Linked DNA regions of Homo sapiens: region 1 is linked to region 2. The links are contacts of gene promoters, found by promoter capture Hi-C in human tissues and cell types (Jung and others, 2019). All regions are on one chromosome and are shown on one strand. The core of a region is centred on a gene start or on the middle of the fragment in contact, and the rest is flanking DNA. Distances in the headings are between cores, read along the strand shown. Region 1 overlaps LINC02236 (long intergenic non-protein coding RNA 2236). Region 2 holds the start of ADCY2 (adenylate cyclase 2).

Region 1 (6,685 bases), core at 3,468-5,967, 600 kb after region 2:
TTGCTGTGCCCCCTTTGTAGACCACCGTGAGACAGCTCTCAGGGGAACCTGTCCATCTCAAAAAGGACAGACATCTCAAGTCCTCTGGAAAATTGAAGGATGTTTTAGGATTTCCAGATTCCTCAAGCTGAAGCACCCACATGACACGCAATCCTGTTTCTTGGTCGTTTTGACCACACCCTATTGCACGACTTGTCTGCACTGCTATGCACAAAGCTCTGCACTCTCTCACCCATCTGGTCAAGCGCCCCTCCTGGGAAGAGGACAGAGAAAGAAGGAGGACATTGAAACCATCATACATTGGAGGGCTGGCCTATGGCTTCCCACTCAGTATTCTGCTCTCTGTGTAAAGAACCCCATTCCTTCAACTGCTCCCTCTGCAAAATGGTTTCTAATCATTCACTATCCTGTCTACTCTTACTCCCTTTTGCCAACATCACTGTTCAAGTACATTGCCCTGAAATTGCAATAATTCCACTGCCAAGTGAGACGAATAAGGGAGAATAAACACCATTTCCTTTAAATGTTCTAAAACCCAGGATTTTTACTTACTCACTAATACAGCAAGTCTGAGATTCCTAAGGTCTCACATCATCACAGAGTTAGAGACCAAGTAATTTTAGCTGAGCCAGATCTCTTCCCCTCATACATCTGACTTTTTTCTGTTTGATAAGTTGGATAACTTATGAATATAGGGAAAATGTTGACAAAAGATTAAAAGTACAAATAGATTTGCATAATTTTTCCCCAAAAAATATAACTAAATCATAATAGTAATTAAAGTCTTGGCTTTCTTGTGTGTTTTTAATCCTTACCAATTTAAGTATTTTTCCAGAACAATTTCATTGTCTCCAAAAATAGTCCTTCACAAGACAAAAAAAATTAGCTAATAAATTCTTGCATGTAAAATGGCTCTGCATCTTATAAATATTTCACAAACATTTGCCAGTTTATTTGTTTTTCTAAATGGTTTCTTATTATTTCTTTGTTTAAAAGGTCCTGGGCCACGAATATATCATGTCCGGGGACTGCAAGATAACAAACGATTTTTTTTCTCTAATCACATTGTTCTTTACAATTTGATTTACTTCACTGTATAAATTCATTTTCTTGGCATGAGAACAGCTGTCTCATGGCTGTTGGGGGCAAAGCTGGAACTCTCAGGCAAACAGCCAGGCTCTCCCGTCTGGCCTGGTGTCACCACCATCCCTTAGGGCCTCTGCCTGAGACAACCCCCAACTGAAGGGCAAGCAACATCCCAGCCTTGTTTGTATCTGCAGGAGGATTCACAAGAGGGCTGACTCTTAGGAGGCTGAGATGACCATTTGCACTGGTGGATCCTCAGAGAGGGCATGGAGCAGCAGGGATGGGTCCTATGGAGGTGGAACAGGAAGCCAGGGTTCCGGCTCTTCCCAGCTTTGCCCACCAGCTGCAGCAGAGTGTCATCACAGTTGCTTTTGGTTTTCAATCCCCATCCCAGGACCTTACTGTGAGTCCAAGCTCCCGGCCCCTTCCTTTCTTTCCCTGTAGGTTCTCTCTGTGTTGCGCAGTTCTTGCAGTTATTTCAGGAAACTTGAAACCCCTAGCCTCTTAGTGAGCACACACACTCTCAGACCTTCAGCCCTTACGCTGTCACAATTTATAGTTAAGACCTATGTGGACCTGAAACCTTAACTGTCATCTGTGAAGTCCTCTTTGATACTGTTCCCTCACACTGGCAATGCTCTTGGGGGCACCCTAACACCTGGTTTTTCTAAAGTAACTCTAAGTTTAGCCACTATGGTGCCCTTCACTGCAAGGAAGACAGGGTCTCTATCACCAAATAGTGACAATCAAGTACATACGATAACGTTTATTTAAAGTGTAATATACTCTAAGTGTGTGTATTCGTTCAATTACACTAGTAGGAAATGTAGCAGCTAGCATTAGTGAGTACTCAGTGTACTCAAAGTGCTTTGTACACATTAATCAAATAAATGCAGTGACTTGTTTTATCCTCACAAAATGCACTGACATTGCTTTCAAGATCTAGTCCATTTTGCAGATGAGAAAAGTTAACTTGCCCTAGGTCCAGTGAGTGAAAGCAGATAACGGAGATTTGGGCCTAGGGAGGCTAGGTCCAGAGCCCATACTCATAACAAACACGTCACCCTCTCTAAACTGTACCACCCGTGAGTACAGTAACAGCTCATTCAGAACAACTAATATTCTCACGTGTTTCAGGAGCGCAAATGTAGGAGAACTCACTTCCAACTGAGGTAATCAGGGAATTTTAAGATGCGGGTTCAGTTACACCAAGACAAATATGACAGAAGTAGAGAAATAATTCCCATCTGAGGAGACTGTGCAAGCACAGAGGTAGCTTCCCAGCTGCCCTCCACCTAGTGCATCCCATTAGCACCCATCCTGACCTTTTTCTACTCTCTCAGGGGAATCGGAGCTTCCCTCATTTCCAAAACAGGAGCCACTTCACTGTACCTGCTGTAGCGACCACACACCATCAAATGGGACTTGTCCCACTCCAACTGTCTTCTTCTCCTCCATCCTAAAAGAAGCTTCTACTCTCTTCCTCTTCTCTTCACTGACCACCTTCCTGAAAATGATGAGTTACATGTTCTCCTGGATTACTTAAGTAATCAAACAAAGCTTTCATTTGCCTGTGACACAGGTAATGAGAGCAGCTCTTCTTGACGTATAATTGAAACAGAAAAACCCTTTTTAAATTTTTTTAACTGTTAAGTTCAGGGGTACAAGTGCAGGTTTGTTACGTAGGTAAACTTATGTCATGGGGGTTTGTTGTACAGATTATTTCCTTACCTAGGTATTAAGCCTAGTTCCCATTAGTTATTTGTCCTGATCCTCTCCCTCCTCCCACCCTCTGCCCTCCTCTGCTAGACCCCAGTGTGTGTTGTTCCTGCCATGTGTCCATGTGTTCTCATCATTTAGCTCCCACTTATAAGTGAGAAGATGCAGTATTTGGTTTTCTGTTCCTGCGTTAGTTTGCTAAGGATAATGGCCTCCAGCTCCAACCATGTCCTTACAAAGGACATGATCTCATTCTTTTTTATGGTTGCATAGTATTCCATGGTGTATATGTACCACATTTTCTTTATCCAGTCTATCAGTGGAACCCAGAATCAAAAGTGGCATATGCTGGTGCCTCAATGATCCACCTGAAGAGAGAAAAAAACTTAAAGGAAAAGAAAACTGATTGGATCAACATAGAAAGCTTGGGAAGACTTGCATCTGACTCCCTCTCTTCCTTCCCTAGCCTAATACTTAATCCCTCACCAATCTTAGTAAGTTACACACACCAAAAGCTCAAAACTCCCAGTTGAAGCCCTCCTTCACCTTCATGCCTTAAAAAAAAAAAAAGAAAAAAAAAAACTCCTAAATGCCAGGAGTTGTAGTAATCAAAGGACATGAGGACATGACCCTGATGGGATACTTTAGCCACACCATTACTTTACAATGGCATGGAGAATCTTTAAGAAATCATGCCCCAAATTTGTGCTATAAGTGTCCCAAAGTTTGAGAATTCCATTATAATTGCAATGAAGTTAGTTACACAGGTTCCATTGTTTTAAGGACTACTCAGCTTAAGGAGGAAACGTTCCAGCCTGTGGCCACTGAAGATGCCTCTGATGCAAAACGTTTAACATTTACAAGTAAAAGTTTTAAATCCCGAGTGATTCCATAGGGCAGCAGTCACCAGCCTTTTTGGCACCAGGGACCAGTTTCGTGGAAGATAATTTTCCATGGACTGTGGTCAGGGGTGATGGTTTCGGGATGATTCAAGTACATTACATTTATTGTGCACTTTATTTATATTATTATTACATTTAATATATAATGAAATAATTAGACAACTCACCATAATGTAGAATTCAGTGGGAACCCTGAGCTTGTTTTTCTGCAACTAGATGGTCCCATCTGGGGGTGATAGGAGGCAGTGACAGATCATCAGGCATTAGATTTTCATAAGGAGTCCACAGCCTAGATCCCCGGCATGCACAGTTCACAATAGGGTTCGAGCTCCTGTGAGAATCCAATGCTGCTGCTGATCAGACAGGAGGAGCTCAGGCGGGAATGTGACCAATGGGGAGTGGCCATAAAGACAGACGAAGCTTCGCTTACTCACCTGCCTCTCACCTCCTGCTGTGTGGCCCAGGTCCTAACAGACCACTGACCATACCAGACTGGTCCTTGGCCTGGGGTTTGGGGTTCCCTGCCATAGGGTACAGAGTGTACTGATGTCAAATCAAGTCAACAAACTATGAAAAAGAAAGTCAAAACATGTGCCCCAAACTTCCACTTCTAAGTAGTAGGTAACAGCCAATGCCCCTGATCTCAGGAACTAAGAAACAAAAGAATAAAAAATCATTTTCGAAGCATTGGAGAGATGTGGAATCAACAAAGAATAAATAAACTAAACTTTCAGAGAGAAAAGCCAGTAAGAGGGAGATGATGGTTGGCATCTGTTTTTCCCTGGAAACATCTTCCTGTACTGTTAAATAGAAGCCCAGTGATCAGATTTAGGTCAGGTAGAAGACGCCGCTAGAGGAAGGAAAACCAGAAAAGCTTTCAGTGGTGCCATAGGGCTAGGGTGACAAATCATATCTCAGGTGAGGGCCCTGCAATGCATAGCTGATTTTACCCACAAGACATTTGATTTTTTTTTTTTTTTTAGCTGAGTAGTCAGGGGAGTGGAGGCCTAAAGAGCTAGGCTAAAAGTTCCTGAAAGGCAAAGTAAAATTTCTGTCAATATTTGTGACTAGGAAACAAAAAACTTCCCAGGGAAGGAACCTGAAAAGAAATCCAGCACAAGATGAAAGCCTGTGAATTGACACCAGGATCTGCAGCCACTCTTTTGGGGGCACCAGACAAATGTGGGTATCAAGGCTCAGCCCCTGGCAAGAGGCTGCTGCTGCTGGAGACAGAAAACAAAGCAAAGACTTTAGTGTTTGTCAAGGACAAAATTAGCGGGTAGGGCATCCAACCCAAGCATTCTCTCCATCAAGACCTTTGCCAAATTCTGAAGGTGACGAGGTCAGGAGTGTGAGTGCTGAGCTTAAATTTCTCTAAGGCCAAGCTGAATCACCCACAATCATTCAGAACTCAGGATGCAAAGACTTTCCAAGCTCTCAGATAAAGCCCTGAGAACAGAGGTAGGTTGAGTCTGATCAAAACTACACCAATCCCTAATGGTTGGCCCTTGGGAATCAACCTCCTCTGCCTTAGAGAGGAGACACAAAACACTTTCATGTGGAAAAGAACATCATTGGAACCTCTACAGTCTTTTATACAAAATATTCAGCTTACAAGAAATTATTAGATCTGTGAAAAGATAAGACCATAGGCTCAATGTGCTTTAATGTTTTTAAAAGCAAACAACAGAATTAGGTTCACAAGTGACCCAAATTCTAGATACAATAGACAATTATTTTAAAATAATTATGATTAATATATTCAAGAAAATAGAGGAAATGAGAGGCAATATAAATAGAATAATGGCAATTTGCAATTAAGAATTAGAATTATTTTTTAAATAAACTATAGAACTAAAATCATAATATCCAAAATTAAGAATGCAATGAATAGTTTTAACAGTAGATTGGACATAAAACTGGTGAACTGGAAAGCAATGCAATAGAAAAATACCCAAACTGAAGGAAAGAAACTAAAAAGAAAAAAATGATTTTAAGAAATTAAGAGAAATAAGGGATATATTCAAAATGTCTAAACAATATATAATTGCATTACCAGGGAGGAGAGAGAATGAGAAGCAATATTCAAAGAGATAATGACTAAAAACATTCCAAACTGATGAAAGACATCAACCCACACATTCAAGAAATTCAGCAAACTTCAAGCAAGATAAATATAAAGAAAATCACACCTAGATACATCATCGATGTCAGCTTTCTAAAAATCAAGGACAAGAAGAAAATATTAAAATCAGCCAAACAAACAACACATTTCTTTGGAATGAGAAAAAAAAGAAAAAAATTAATAGCTGACTTCTCAAAAGAAATCTTAGAAGCAGATAACAAGCCAGGCATGGTGGCTCATGCCTGTAATCCCAGCACTTTGGGAGGGCAAGACGGGCAGATCACTTGAGGTCAGGAGTTCAAGACCAGCCTGGCCAACATAGTGAAACACCAAAACCCCGTCTCTACTAAAAATACAAAAATTAGCCGGGCATGGTGGCAGATGCCTGTAATCCCAGCTACTCAGGAGGCTGAGGCAGAAGAGTTGCTTGAACCTTGGAGGCGGAGGCTGCAGTGAACCGTGATCGCATCAGTGCATTCCAGCCTGGGCGAAAGAGCAAGACTCCATCAAAAAAAGGAGAAGGAAGGGGATGGGGAGTAGGAGGGGAAATCATGGAAACAGAAGATGGGAAATTTGTAACCTTATATGCTTTATTAAAGCAAAAGGAAGAAAATTACAAACAAAGAACAGAGCAGAATTTCAGTAAATTTTTTTAAAAATCTTTAAAAATCAACAAGGTCAAAAGTTATGCTTTGAAATGATAAATCTTTAGGAAAATTGAACAAGAATAAAACACTAACTACCTAATAAGAAAGAAAAAATGAACTATAACTACAGATCCTACAAACATTAACAAGATAGAAGAATATTATGAACAAATTTACTCCAGAAGATGTGGCTATCTGGATTACAT
Region 2 (6,554 bases), core at 3,246-5,745:
GGATGTTGGGCACATTTGTCTGCCCTCCCATCCTTCAACCCCCAAGGAAGGAGGTGATTCTTCCACCTATTGGGGGTGCTGAAAGATTGTCTGGAATAATAAAGTTGGTTGGCCTCTACAAATAATTAGCTATGTTAATTTGTTTTGGAAGAATAAGATTCTTTCTCTATGTACACACAAAAGAACCTCTCTGATAAATCTGCCCTTCGAAAAAATATCTGATGCTGGAACATTGATTCATCATAAAAATACCTCTGGTTATTGTTTTAAATATCTAGCTCATTACATCACCATAAAAGAAACAAGGTGGGCCATATTCTCAGTCACATATATTACCTATTTATAGTTAATAAAAGTGCATACTCTTATTTCAGTATCATACTAAAAAAAATCTACTTTATTTCTCTGACTACTTAAAATTATGGAATAAAATTTTTTCATTTATATTGAAATATTGACTATTCCTAATCATAAGTTTTAGCCAAAACAAATCTGGCTGGAGCCAGCTGGTATCCTGACAAAATAAAAAAAAATTATGTCAACCTTTCTTAACACTGACAGGCAAATTTTGAAAACAGCTGGCTGATTTTGGATATAATAAATGAGAGTATTAAATTCTGAAAAAGGGTTTTCATGCATTCAGTAATAAAAACCAGTTCCAAAAAACAAAGTAGAAAGAGAAAAAAATGAGAAAAAGAAAAAGAAAAAAATTAAAAACCAAGTGACATGATAAGATTTATGACTTAAAATTTCATTTCATTAGCTCTAAGTTTTCTGATGCCAGGGGTCAATTTTATTTTGTTCCCCATGCCCAGCATTATTGCCATTCCTGGCACTTGGTAGGCACTCAACAAGCTGATGGTGAAAAAATTATAAATCAGATTTTTCATGAATACTCTCCATGATAAACAGCAGAAACTATTACTCATATTATTAAACAGAATATTTAAATTCAAGACATGCCATCAAATTTTATATTTACTGAGTTTCCTGTCTTCAAATAATTCTTCACAAATATGGGATTAAAACTACTTAATAGTTTTCATGTAGAAAATAATAAATTAACCAAGACTGTGAAGTTTCAATTCAGAATTTACTTTTACAGCATATAAAACTTTGAGGATTACTTTAACTTTAGGGCCAACAATGCAGAATCAAGGATTGATCAAAGGTTGAAATTAAATGAAATCACTTTGTGAACAATATCAATTAGGGAAATATTAAATCAAAATGAAGCTTGCTTTTTTCTTTTTAGTATGTATTCCAAATCACTTCTACAAAGGCAATTACATACAGCAAAAAAATCTCTATGTACTTGCATTATGCTAAGAGCATTTTGTAGTCCAAATGCTCTAGGAGGCTAGGGATGTGCTTTAAGCAGATTGCCAAACTTCTATAAGAACTGATGAAAGTCTAATGGAAATCAAAATCAGGCAGATTCAGGGGGAAAAAAAGGAATCTGTCCAAGATTTTAGGCAGCAAAAATAGATCTGCTTAGCTCCTGAATTGCATGACAGCCCAGCTATTCAAGTAAAGTGCTCCAGCATGGAAACCTTGGCAGGGTCCCAAAGCAGCCATTCCCACCTCCCAAGGTAGACCTCTCTGAAGCGAAGCCCTGCCAGCCCAAGAAATGAACTCATCTCTAATTACATGAACACAGCTTTACCTTAGCCCTATTCTACCTTCAAATGTTCCTACCCCAGCCATCGCTGACTATCTGGATGGAGAACGTGTTTTGGAAAGCAGAGATGCTGGTTATGGTGTTTCTAAAATCAAAATAGAAACAGGCTGTTGGGAGCCCAACATCATCCCAGTCCCGACTCAGGTCCGGTTTCAGAACACAGGGCACATTTCTCCTAGGCATAGCTCCTTCCGACTTGGTCCTGCAGCTGGTCTCTGCCTGAAGGTGGCTTTTCTATCAGACTGAGTAACCCTCCCTGATTCTGGAACATTTCTGCACAGCTTATCTCTTTGAAGGGTGCACATAGTAGACATGAGACCATGAATTAGGTATGGCCAAGGACAGGATTCATTTCACTGTCTCTGGACCTCACCATAGGTGACAGCCATGCTGTGGGAAATGCCCACTTTGTGCTTAAAATGATTTAGCTGAAGGCAAGAGGAGCATTAAAATGATTGATTTATCAAGGAAAAGTAAAGATGCGTGGAAAACGCTTTGAAAAGGGTACCACTAACACATATGCACCAAGCAAAATGGAACATAAAGGAATTGAATATAGACACACAAATACAAAGAACAAAGACAATTCAAAGAAGGGTGCTTTAAGCCCAATAATGCTAAATCTCTGAGTGACCCATTCAAGAATCTCTATCAATGAGGTTTAAGAAATTAGAATTCTCCATCACAGAAAACAAAGTGGTGTGTGCAGAGGAAGCATGAATTTCACACTTGTCTTTAAATATATTAATGCTGCTATAAATAGGTCATCACCTGCTCCTTTCCATTTAGAAGAGAACAAGCCAGAGCAGGTTTGAATTACAGGTTCAAGAGAATCACAAGCTGAAATGCCCCAGCAGAACAGATTTCCAAAGGAAAACTCTGATGTTTCTTTTCTTCCTGGCAAGTAAAAAATAATAAGTAGATGACTTTAGAGATCCTGCTTGCCCATGAGACTGAGCAGAAGTCTCTCCCCAAGTCCTTTTTGTTCCTAAAAGTAGTAAAGAGAGATAAAAATGCCATTCCAGAGAGCATAGAAGGCTGGTTACATGTGGAGAGAGTGAGGGTTTCTCCGGACTCCTATCTAGACTACAGGGATCAAAAGTTACTCTCTGCTCTAGGTTTGATAGTACAAGAGCCAGTGTGTGATCTGTGACTTCATGGCCTCCTACATTCTATTTCTATTCTTACCTCATTGAACTCAATCAGTAGACAGCTACCATTGAGTGGTGTGGGGGAATTTTTTTATTTTTTAAAAACATGATGGTAACAATTCTTCCCATGCATAACATTTGAACACCATCTGGCTCCGGACATCCTAAACAAATTGCCAAATACCAAGGACAGCTATTTTATGCATGGTGAAATATAAGCAAAATCCACTTCTTTGGTGGTGGACACATATAAATATAGGCACATATTTATATTCTAAGCTCAAAATACATCACCCAGTGGACACATTCACAGATCAACCACTGACTAAAAAAAAAAAAAAAAAAAAAAAAAAAACTCACTGGTGGATAATCAATGCCTCGCACAAAATCTGCACATGCATGTCACAGGCAGTGCAAAAGTTTGAACCACACACTCAGAGATCAGTAACAGGAAGTTATCGCCATCTACAGACTTCCCCTCACTTTTCAAGGGAGCGAGCCAAGGATTTCTGCTTGAAAAATATAAACTGGCAAAACTGACATCAGCTGTTGAGCTGCATTATACTCCTCGTGATGAAATCCACTTTAATAACCTGTCCAAAACCCTAAACACGTTACTTCTTTAGAAACGGGAAAGCAATCGTCCGTCCCAAACGCTTCTTAACTGTAGTCTCTGAGATGAAAGATTGATTCACAAGTCAACACCACATCACTTTCCGTCTATCGGGCTAAAGAGCTAAATGCATACAGATTTAAAGGCAAAGATGTATACTTAATTTTTCTTCTTCATTTTCCTTGTCATTAACCACTTTCCCAAGGCAGGCTTTCTGCAGAGTTGAATAACGCCCAATCCCAACTAAAATGCCAACTGTGGGGCCATGCCAGTGGAACCGGGCAGGAGACAGCGACTCGCCCAGGAAGCCCAGGGCTGAGTCGGGGAAGACCTATTCCAGCGCTGCGGGCAGCGGTGCCCGGCGGAAAGCGCAGAGTTTGCCAGCGGGTGCGCAAAGATGCAAAAAGCACACGCCCTGCCCGTCCACCTGGTGAACACCTCGGGAACTTTATTTTGGGAAGAGCCTTCCCAGGAAACTTTTCTCCCGCCCGCAGCCCTTGCCAGAGTCCACCGGGCCGCGGGCCAGCAGGAGAAGCAGGGAGCCGCGGGCCGAGGGGCTGCCGCGGGCCGAGGGGCTGCCGCGGGCCGAGGGGCAGCCCGGAGCGGGACGCGGCTCGGCTGGCCGGGCTCCTCTCAGGGCCGGGGAAGGCGCGGCGCTGGACCCGCGGGGAGGCCACTCACCAGCCCGAGCGCGAAGAAGACGGCGAGCAGGGCGAGGCAGGAGCCCATGACGATGAGCAGCAGGAAGACGATGAGCGGGTGCTGCTGGCTCATGCAGTAGTAGGACTCGTAGAGCCAGTCCCGGGACCGCGGCAGCCCGTCTCCGCCGCCCGCCGCCTCCTCGGAGCGGTCCCGCAGGTAGCGGCGGCGCCGCATCGCCTCCTGCCACATCGGGGCCGCTCACAGGGCGCCCGCCGTGCGCGCCCGGCCCGGGCAGCGCCGCTCGCCGCGGCCGCCCGCGTCCCACCCCCGCGCCGCCTCGGCCGGCCCGGCTGCCGGCACCCGGAGCTGCGCGCAGGGGCCTCCGGCGCGGGCGGAGCTCGGCGCCCCGGGCTGGGCGCGCTGACGCGCGGGCGGGGGCCGGGCGGCGGCCTCGGGGGCAGCTCCCGGCGCCGCCGCCGCCACCGCCACCGCGCGGGAGGGGGCGGGTTCCACGGGGCCCTCCGCCCGCCGCTCCCCGCCCCGCGCGCAGCCGGCCTCCGTGCAGGGGCGGTGTCGGCCCCCACCCGACGGCCCGGCTGCAGGCTGGGGACGGCGGGGGCTGTACGGTGGGGGGAGTGGCGAACTGAGGGGCTCCCGCTGCGCCCCGGCCCGGGGTCGTCCTCGCCCGCCGGCCTCCCACACTCAGCCACCAGGTCGTCCACCTCCTCTGCCCTATCCCGAGTGCAGCGTGGGTGGGGTGGGAGGGACGGCCCTCCCCGCTACGAAGTGAGAACACAGCCTAAGGGGTGGAGGGAGGGAGTCCTACCCCCACCACTCCCCCCGCCCCACCTGGCTCGGAGCACTGCGGGGCTCCTCAGCTCCTCTCCACTACCTCAAGGTCAGCGGGCAGGGACGCTGCCACCCTCCTGTTTCCTCCACCCCTTAGTGGGCTGCGGGGCCTGCTCCCACCCTCCCCCACAGTCACAGAGCGCAGCCGGGGTCAGAGGACCCGGGGGGTCCCTCCTTTAGTACGCGGGTCAGAGGACAGCGGGGTCTCCCTCCTTTTCACTCTTTTGGGGAGCTGGAGAGGATTTCCCACCCTTCCCGCCTCCCCGCGGTGGGCACCGGTTTGCCGTCCAGCCCTTCTTCCCCTCAGCGTAGCAGGGTTGAGGGCTCCCCCATCCTCTCCACCCTCTTGAGAGGGCCGGGGCTCCCTGCGAGGGCGGCAGGGCGCGGAAACGCCAGGGGACCTAACTGGAGACCGGCACCATGTGGAAGTGAAGCGGCAGTGACTGCACTGGGAGCCCCCGCCACGGCCTCGCGGGGGCAGCGTCCGTTGCGCCCTGCACGCTCAGCTTCAGTCACACTTTGGAGGTGCCGTATAAGCCTGTCATATCACAGGTTTACAGAGCTGCCCCGTGGCTGGTCGTGGTCCTCGCCGAGCCCCTCTGCTGAGCGGGGATGGCGGCAAAGGGGCGCCGGGGAGAGCGGCTGGGCGCGGGAGCGGGCGGGTCGGCCCTGGGAGTAGCTCCCTCCCTGTCACCTTGGGGGCCTGGACGCAGGAGGCGCTAGAGACCCGGCAGGAGCGTTGTGGGGGCGGATGTCACCAGGGACAGTGTCCCCTCCCGACACGCGTGGGAGCGGAGGCCGCTGGCCTTCGCCCTGGGGGCCGAAGGGGCTTCATTGCTTATCACCAAAGGAACCCACCCTTCTGGAAGTTTCCTCCTATTCGAGTGTGGTCCGGCCCAAAGAGCCCCCAAATCCCACCTCCTCCCCCAAAGCCTTACCCCAAGGAATCCAAGGCACAAGAGCCCTCCCTTCTCCTGCCACCAGCGAGCATCCCAGAGGGCAGCCCCAGAGGGCTGTTCCATGCACTTTTCATCTCTTCCAGGAGATGACCAGCTCTCAGGACTCAGCCTTGTCACCACCTAAGACCTCAGAACCTTCTCGAATGGCCCCATGCCCCGCCTCCCTGGCTGTCCTGTCCTCCTCGCTGGCAGAGGGCATGTAAGCTAGGTAGCTGCGTTACCCTGAGCACAGGGCCAGGCCGGGCACGGATCCTTCCAGAGGTTTTCATTTTAGCATCCGTCAGTGCCCACAGGGCCTAAGGATGAGGGCTCAGGAGCTGCACAGCTCACCCGCAGATCTCATAGACACCAGAGGCAGGGAGGTGGCCGAGGAGACTGGGCCCAGGGCTGCGTGCAGTACCTCAGGTCCGGCCCCACCAGGCTCCCTGGTCCCTGGACTTCCCTCCTTCTGAGGACCTGGAAACAAGGAGTGGAGGAGGAGGCAATGGGTGGGGGGGTGTCCCCCTGAAGCCTCCTGTAGGTCCCAAGGCTCACCTCCCACCGTGGGTCATCCTGCCCTAGCAGCAGAAAGAAATTCTCTTCCCTGCAGTGTTTATGGACTGCTGCCCCCACCCTGTCCTGCCTGCCCTCCACTCCAACACCCTCCTGTGACTGTAACC

Evidence for each region. The method cuts DNA at HindIII sites, captures the fragments that hold promoters and counts their contacts. A contact is called where the count stands out against the background at its distance.
Region 1: a fragment that was not itself captured here is called in contact with the fragment with the promoter of ADCY2 in region 2 in 2 of the 25 tissues and cell types used here (dorsolateral prefrontal cortex and hippocampus).

What each region holds. Positions count from the first base shown.
Region 1 is chr5:6,798,860-6,805,544 of GRCh38, reverse strand. All of the region lies in intron 1 of LINC02236 (long intergenic non-protein coding RNA 2236), which reads right to left. Among named protein-coding and RNA genes, the nearest start is that of LINC02236, 6.3 kb to the right of the region's middle. RefSeq lists an enhancer at 1,278-1,778. The HindIII fragment of the contact is 3,558 bases long and covers 2,939-6,496 here.
Region 2 is chr5:7,394,079-7,400,632 of GRCh38, reverse strand. It overlaps ADCY2 (adenylate cyclase 2), which reads right to left and starts at 4,495. Exons shown (of 25, transcript NM_020546.3): 1 at 4,127-4,495. The coding sequence starts at 4,336. It overlaps LOC107986403 (a long non-coding RNA gene), which reads left to right and starts at 4,684. Exons shown (of 2, transcript XR_001742597.2): 1 at 4,684-6,554. RefSeq lists enhancers at 4,414-5,179, 5,180-5,945. The HindIII fragment of the contact is 8,449 bases long and covers 1-6,554 here.